Regions from separate parts of the Homo sapiens genome. Here region 2 is linked to region 1. The links are contacts of gene promoters, found by promoter capture Hi-C in blood cells and fetal thymus (Javierre and others, 2016). All regions are on one chromosome and are shown on one strand. Each heading gives the region's core, a stretch centred on a gene start or on the middle of the fragment in contact. The rest is flanking DNA. Distances are from core to core; before and after follow the strand shown. Region 1 holds the start of PAXIP1-AS2 (PAXIP1 antisense RNA 2). Region 2 overlaps EN2-DT (EN2 divergent transcript).

Region 1 (3,373 bases), core at 1-2,500:
TTCTGTCTATATTATTCCTGCCTGGATGACATAGTGAGGTCTTCACTGCTGGAGAAGGGAGGGCTGGTGGGCCAGAGGGGAGACCCTGCAGAGGTGTGCAGTGTCCTTCTCTGCTGTTCATCTCAACCCGCTGTGTTAGGAAACCAGGAGGAAGCCCTACCTGGAATGAAACAGGTGCCTAGAATGAAGAGGGTAAGGACAAGGTTTAAGACTGTGACACCTGTTGCTTAAGAGACGCATTTAGGAGTGTGGCATGTAGATCCCAAATGTCCGTTTTGTAAAAGTTGTTGTTATTGTTTCACTTTTGTTGTTGTTGTTTGTTTGTTTTGAGATAGAGTCTCACTCTGTTGCCCAGGCTGGAGTGCAGTGGTGCAATCACAGCTCCCTGCAGCCTCAACCACCTGGCTCAAGCACTCCTCCCACCTCAGTCTCCCGAGTAGGCGGGGCCACATGTGTGCACTGCCATTCCTGGCTAAGTTTTCTTTTAATTCTTTGTAGAGACAGGGTTTCCCTATGTTGCCCAGGCTGGTCTTGAACTCCTGGCTTCAAGCAATCCTCACACTTCAGCCTCCTAAAGTGCTGGGATTACAGGCGTAAGCCACCACGCCCAGCCTGTTGTTATTGCTTTGAAGGAGTTCAGGAAATGCCACCCCCATGGCACTTGGGAGTGCTGATCCCTGTGAGCTGAGGGCACTTGGGAATCAGCGGATGCAGGCAGAGGTTTCCTCTGAGCTCCCCTTACCTGCCTGAAGACGGATCCTCCAAAAGGAACTCAGCTGTCATGAATCGCCTCCCCAGGAATCTCGTCAATCTGGGAGGATTAACACAGATCACAGGAGAGGACACTGGAGGTGACATCAGCCCAGATGACTATCACCCGTTCTCCCGAAGGCGGCTCTGAGATGTTTACGACCTCAGAGACATTTCATCCACAGAGCAGCACAACCTTTACTCACCAGACAGTCCCTCCCCAGGCTCTCCCATCACTTGTGTTCTCACCTCCCCTGGAAGCCCCGGGAACTTCGAAGTAGGCTTCTGTGGACTCCTGCCACTTCATCAGTAGCTGGGGCCCTGGTACCAGCACAAACTGCTTGCATCCAACTGACTTCACCAGACATACGGGCGTCTTTGGTAAGACCGCTCTCAGGTTTTGAATCTCCCAGGTTTGGGCTGAGATTCAGATTTTATTTAAGTAAATGAATTTCATGCTCAGTGGGACTGATATTGAAGCCGCCATTTAGGGCTTTAAGGCAGGAGTTTCGCGTCATTTCTCTAAAGATTCTGCTATTGGCAGGTTTGTGGTTTCACTTTTCTATTAGGTTAAGTTTTCGTTCGTCTTACTTGCTCTTTTGTAACCTTTTCTCTCATTGGACATTTTACTTGCTCAAGTTTGTAACCTTTTCTCTCATTGGACATTTTTTTACTTGCTCAAGTTTGTAACCTTTTCTCTCATTTGACATTTGGTTAAAGAGAAAGCAGTTTTCTTTGTAAAAGGAGAAAGTGAATGTTTGTGGCTTAAGCCAAATTTGTGGCTTTAAACCAGCCAGGCTTTGGATCTTGGTTAACATTGAGATTTAAAGTTTCTTCCTGAGTCACCCAAAATTTGTAAAAGGTTGGAATGAGGACGTGATAAGCTGAAGACAAAAAGGACTCTTTCTCCCAGCTGAAAGGCACCTTAGGCAATGGAGGTAACACAAGGGTGTGGAAGCTCACAACAAACCCCAGAGAAGAACTCACAGGGAGAGCTGCTTAACCCCCGGGGCACACAACACACAAGGGGTTCGTCACCCAGTGCCTTGAACTCCCAGAAATGTCTGGGTTTCTCTGAGGTAGGTAAGAGGGAAGAAGCTACTTGTAGGTGATACCTCCAGGAATAATCCCTACTAAGCAGCACACTGGACCCCAAACACTTTTCCCTTTTAGCCTTTGGGCATTTTAAAAGAGAATCCAAATTATGAGCAATTATCCATCTATAACCAAGCCCTCATTAAGCAATGCACCTTTGGAAACTCCAGCGGGGTTTATGTACAAGACTTATGGCGCCACCTCCTGTCGATAGTTGGAGAAATGGTCTTATTTGACCTAAGAAGATCCTAAATTACAATGATCAAAGAGAATTATCTTTGAAATAGCTAGATTAGTTTATTTATATGCACAATTTTAAAAAGCCAGCTATGGAATCAAATAAAATAATTAAGAGAGTTACTTCCAATGGCACCCAGAAGCATCCAAAAGAGGTTTTGACAGAATTCTTCCCTTAGAGGAAGAAAATAAAAAGCACTCTAAAACCATTACTGAATTTTAAAAAACACTGAAATGTCTTCTTCTCTCCCTGCTCCCCTGTCTCTCTAAGCCTCCTTGTCAGAACTACCCAGCCCTGATTGACCTTCTCCTCCTCCTCCTCCTGCCCCTCCTCCTGCTCCCACTGGTTTGGCTCCATTTCATCCAGCATCTGGTAGAGGGGAACCTGCTTTATCAATCATGATCAAACTTACAGGCATAGTTAAAAGAATTCCTTGATCTTCACCAGGTTCCTATTGGTTTTGCTAGGAAATTTGAATTAAATATCCAAGCTTATGACCCTAGTTATTCTGACTTCTAGCAACAGATTCACATGTTAGTAGCAAAAATTAAAGCTAAAGGCTGGCTAGACAAAGCTCACTGGAGAAATCTGTTAGGGATCTTCATAAATGTTCAGAAGAGGACCATAGACAGGCTTGAAGAACAGCAAAGGCTTTGCATCAGGCTATCTCCTCAGTTTTTCAGAGTAGTCAACTGGAACAAAATACAATATCAACAAAATTCAGATGAGTCAGTAATATACTTTGAGGGCTGTGGAAAAAATTTTAAAGAATATTTAGTTTTATCCGAAGAAAGCTGTGCTAATCATCGAAATGATACTCGACTCCAGTTTAACAAATGAGTTAGATGAATTGGAACTAACAATGAAAAGACAAAGTTGGGCCACTTCTGATACTCATGATTTGGTCAGTCTCATTGACCGGTTATCTGATACCTTAACTGAAGAAGAAAGAGAGAGGGAAGCCAAACAAAAGAGCGAGGCTAATACAATTATGAATTTACAATTAAAACAACTATTCACACAATTTTGGCCTTCACAATACCCCTAGAAACTCCCTAATGGACCTAACCTTCCACTTTGCAATTTTTGCAAAAAGCATGATTACTTTCAAAAGAGTTGCCAAAAATGAAAAAGGAAAGAATGTTAACCAGTGGAGGCAGAAAAGAAAACAGGGGTGCTCCAAGGAACTTAAAGGGGCCTTTCATTTCCTCCTTACTAACACTGGGAGAAATAAAAATTATTATAAATGGAGAACTAACACAAGCACTTATTGACACTGGAGCCACATTA
Region 2 (3,373 bases), core at 493-2,992, 520 kb before region 1:
GCTCGACTGCGGGACAGTTGTGTCGATGGGGACCCCCCCAGCTGGATTTTCATTCCACTTGCTCCCTTGATCGAGTGCTCACGCCCGGCAGGAGCTGGCTGTGCGCCGCCCCGGGTGGGTGGAGGTGCGTGGGGCTCGGGCCTTGGCTCGCTTGGGTGTGTCCCAGTCTTTTTCCTCCAGAATTAAAGGCCTCTGCAGGGCGCAGAGCCCCTCTCCCCCTCTCCTAACTCTCCTCCCCACCTCGCCGCGGCCTAAGCTAAGATGAGGTGAGCTTCCAGGGCTGTGTCCCTAGGAGGCCCCGAGCACTTTTCCTCCGAGGGTCGAAGAAATCAGGTCCCCTCTCTTTCCCCAGCGCCCTCTGAGGAAGCCGCGAACCTCTGAGCGAGCGTGGTTTTACTGGGGATTCCTAGCGACCTGCCCTGTGCCCAGCGACGCCCCAAGGGGAGAGGAGCTCTGTGGAGGGGCGGTGTGGGGGTGGGTGTCTACACTACATCCTCTGGCTCGGAGCAGGACCCGGTGATGCGCCCTGGCCGAGCTCCTGTCTCCTAGGAATGCGGGTGCCTCGGGCCCTGTCGGGACCCTTGGTTCGACCGGAGGGCCCGGGAGTGGGAGCCTGGATCCAACAGGCACCCGGATCCAGGAGTCAGACTCCTTGGTTCCGAACGTTTCTTCCGGAGCGAAAGCTTGCTCCCCCTTCCCCCAAGTCCCTCGCGGGCTGGGAGGTGAAGGGAGCGACAGAAGCCGGGCCTCCTCCGCAGCGCCCAACGCCCCGGGCTCTCCGGGTCCCGGGACGTGGCTCGGGTGCGTGGAGGGACGGCTGGGGGCGCAGATTTGTGAATGAACCTCGGAGCTCTTTGCAGCTCACAGATCAGAGGCTGCGATCGCCCCACCGACGTGGTCCAATGAGCCGCCGCAATAAGCTCTGAGCGACGAAACGGAGGCACGGCCTGGACTCTGCGGCACCGCGCTGCGCAGGGCCGGACGGGGGAGGGGCTGAGCCACTGCAGCAACTTCAAAGCCTGTGTCGGGGCTCAGCAATGGGTGGGCTCTCCCCGGGCCGCACGGTTCTCAAGGGCCTCCCCCGACCCCCACCGCCACCCCGTCGGAACGCCCAGAGGCGTTCCCAGCCCAAGTGATGGAGACTCTGACTCCCAGTTGTCTCCGCGCCCTCCGCTTGCGCGTCCTTGGCGTCTCCCCCGGGACCCGGGGGGCGATCACATTCTGAGACCTAATCCGGTTACTTCCGGGCGTGGGTCTCCACCGCCTCCCGGGCTGGCTGGACTCGCTTCCTAAGTAGCTGTCTCATTCACCATTCGCCGCCAGCTCCCCTTTCAAAATTCAAGTCTTCGGCTGCCTCCCTGTCGCTCTCCGCTCTCCGCTCTCCGCTCTCCGTGCGAGGGGAGGGGAGGGGGAGGAAGGAGCGGACACCCATGTGTGCCCGGGAGGGGCCCGCACCGCCTCCCCGCTCCCTCAGCAGAGGCCCTGGGCCCCCTCTTCAGAGGGAAATCGGTGAGCAGACACTAAGTGACGCGAGCCCCGGCCCCTTCCCCGCCGGGGGATCTCCGTGCGTTCCAGAAGCGCACCTGGAAGCAATTCTCCTCGCGTAACCGTCGCCTCCTAAGCATCTCCAGCATCTTCACATCTCCTAAACATCTGCACAATTCTGCGCTGTTTTCTGGAGGACCTCGGAGACGGGGAGGGGACGATGGGGTGCCGTGGGGGCAGGGAAGGAGAGAGGTCAGGGGTTACGCAGGATTACGGCTCGGCTCGGTGACCCTTCTCATCCTCCGTGGCCCAGGGAGGGGATCTGTAGCGAGGGCTCCAGACCTCTTTTGCAAAACCGAACTCTGGGGGAGGGCTTGCGTCCCATGAAGCACGGGGAAGGTCTAAATGACGAACACCCACGAGCGGCCGGGAGCGGAAGATGGCAGGATCGACGGGCCCGGGAGGGAAGATGGGCGTGCGTCTCCAGTGACCATGGCACGAGGCGGCGTCCTGCTCCGCACCACGCTACAACCCAACCAGGCCTCCGCCCCTCCGCGCTTGAACAGGGCGGGTCCACCCGGGCGGCGAGCTCGAGCTCAGCGCAGCCTCAGCCCGGCGCCTCCCTCCCGCTTGCTGGGGAAGAGGTGGGAAACCCTCTCCGCCGCGCCCTGGCTCCCACCGCAGGCCTCCGAGAATAAACTCTCTCAGGGAGACTGAACTGTCCCCACCCTCTGTCCCAGCCTCAAGAGGGACTTCCTGAAAATATGGCAGCCAAGAATAGGGTGAAAATGTAAGCCTGAGGTTTCCTTCTCCACCTCCCCCTGCTCCCTGCTCCTTCACCTCCACACTTCCCACCAGCCCAGAGGGGTCCAGCTGTAACCACCACCACCGCCACCTCTACGGTGCTGACGACTGTCACCATTTCCTTCCAGTTCCAGCTGCCTCCTGGATGCCTCCACTGGAAGGCTGACGAGCACCTTCAATTTCACGTGTTCACTTCAGAGCACCCCCGATCCCGCTACCCCTGCTGCCCTGATCTGCGCCTTCCCAGTTTCTCCCAGTCACCCAGCTGGCCACCCCCCAGGAGACATCCCTGATCCCTCATTTTCTCTCTAGAGCCACCTCCTGTCCCTTAGCAAGGCCTGCTGGCTCTGCCTCCACGTCTTTTCCACAGCTCCCCCATACTCCTGCGTCCTCCACCAGCCCCCAAGCCCTTTCCCCCTCCACCTGCAGGGTTGCATGGCCTCCTAACCAGCTCTCCACCTCACACATGTGCCCTGTGGTCCACCGCTCTCCCTACAACAGAGTAAGCTTCAGCTCAGACCTACCCTTGGTCAAAACCAGTGGTTTCCATGTGCATGAGAATTAGACACATCCTTACAATGTCCTTCAAGGCACAATGAAATCCACCAGCCACCTCCCTCACCTGAGGTTCTAAGTCTAGTTTTGCCAGTTCTTGAGCCTCCAAGCCATGGCCACCTCAGGGGAGCTCTTTTCCTTTGGTCCTGACTCTTTGTTCATCTGGTACATTCTTTCTCCATATCTTTGGGCACAGACTGTTCCCCAGAGAAGGGTCACATGATCTAAAATGACTCCCTAATCCAGGTGTGTTCCCCACAGCACTTATGGCTACTTGCAGTTGTAAAGGTGTTGGTGCGTTTATTATTGGTCTCTCATCTAGAACATACCTTCCAGAGGGCAGGGCCTCGTCTTCCTGGCTGTACCCCCAGTCCTGCTAAAGGGACTGGCACACAGTAACATGAAGCCAGTGCTCCCAGACTTTTTGGTCACAGGACTGCTTTATGCTCTTAGAAATTTACTGAGCCCCCCAAAGAGCTTTTGTATATAGCAACGGATAGATTTAGATGTCTATCCGGTGATTTGCGCA

What was found. The method cuts DNA at HindIII sites, captures the fragments that hold promoters and counts their contacts. A CHiCAGO score of 5 or more calls a contact.
Region 2: a contact is called between a fragment that was not itself captured here and the fragment with the promoter of PAXIP1-AS2 in region 1, in 1 of 17 cell types (naive B cells). The highest score is 7.8, in naive B cells.

The regions. Positions count from the first base shown.
Region 1 is chr7:154,926,394-154,929,766 of GRCh38, reverse strand. It overlaps PAXIP1-AS2 (PAXIP1 antisense RNA 2), which reads right to left and starts at 1,250. Exons shown (of 8, transcript NR_024476.1): 1 at 1,000-1,250; 2 at 743-811. RefSeq lists enhancers at 620-839, 990-1,089, 1,110-1,169. The HindIII fragment of the contact is 7,419 bases long and covers 1-2,575 here.
Region 2 is chr7:155,447,432-155,450,804 of GRCh38, reverse strand. All of the region lies in intron 2 of EN2-DT (EN2 divergent transcript), which reads left to right. Among named protein-coding and RNA genes, the nearest start is that of EN2-DT, 8.0 kb to the left of the region's middle. The HindIII fragment of the contact is 2,113 bases long and covers 686-2,798 here.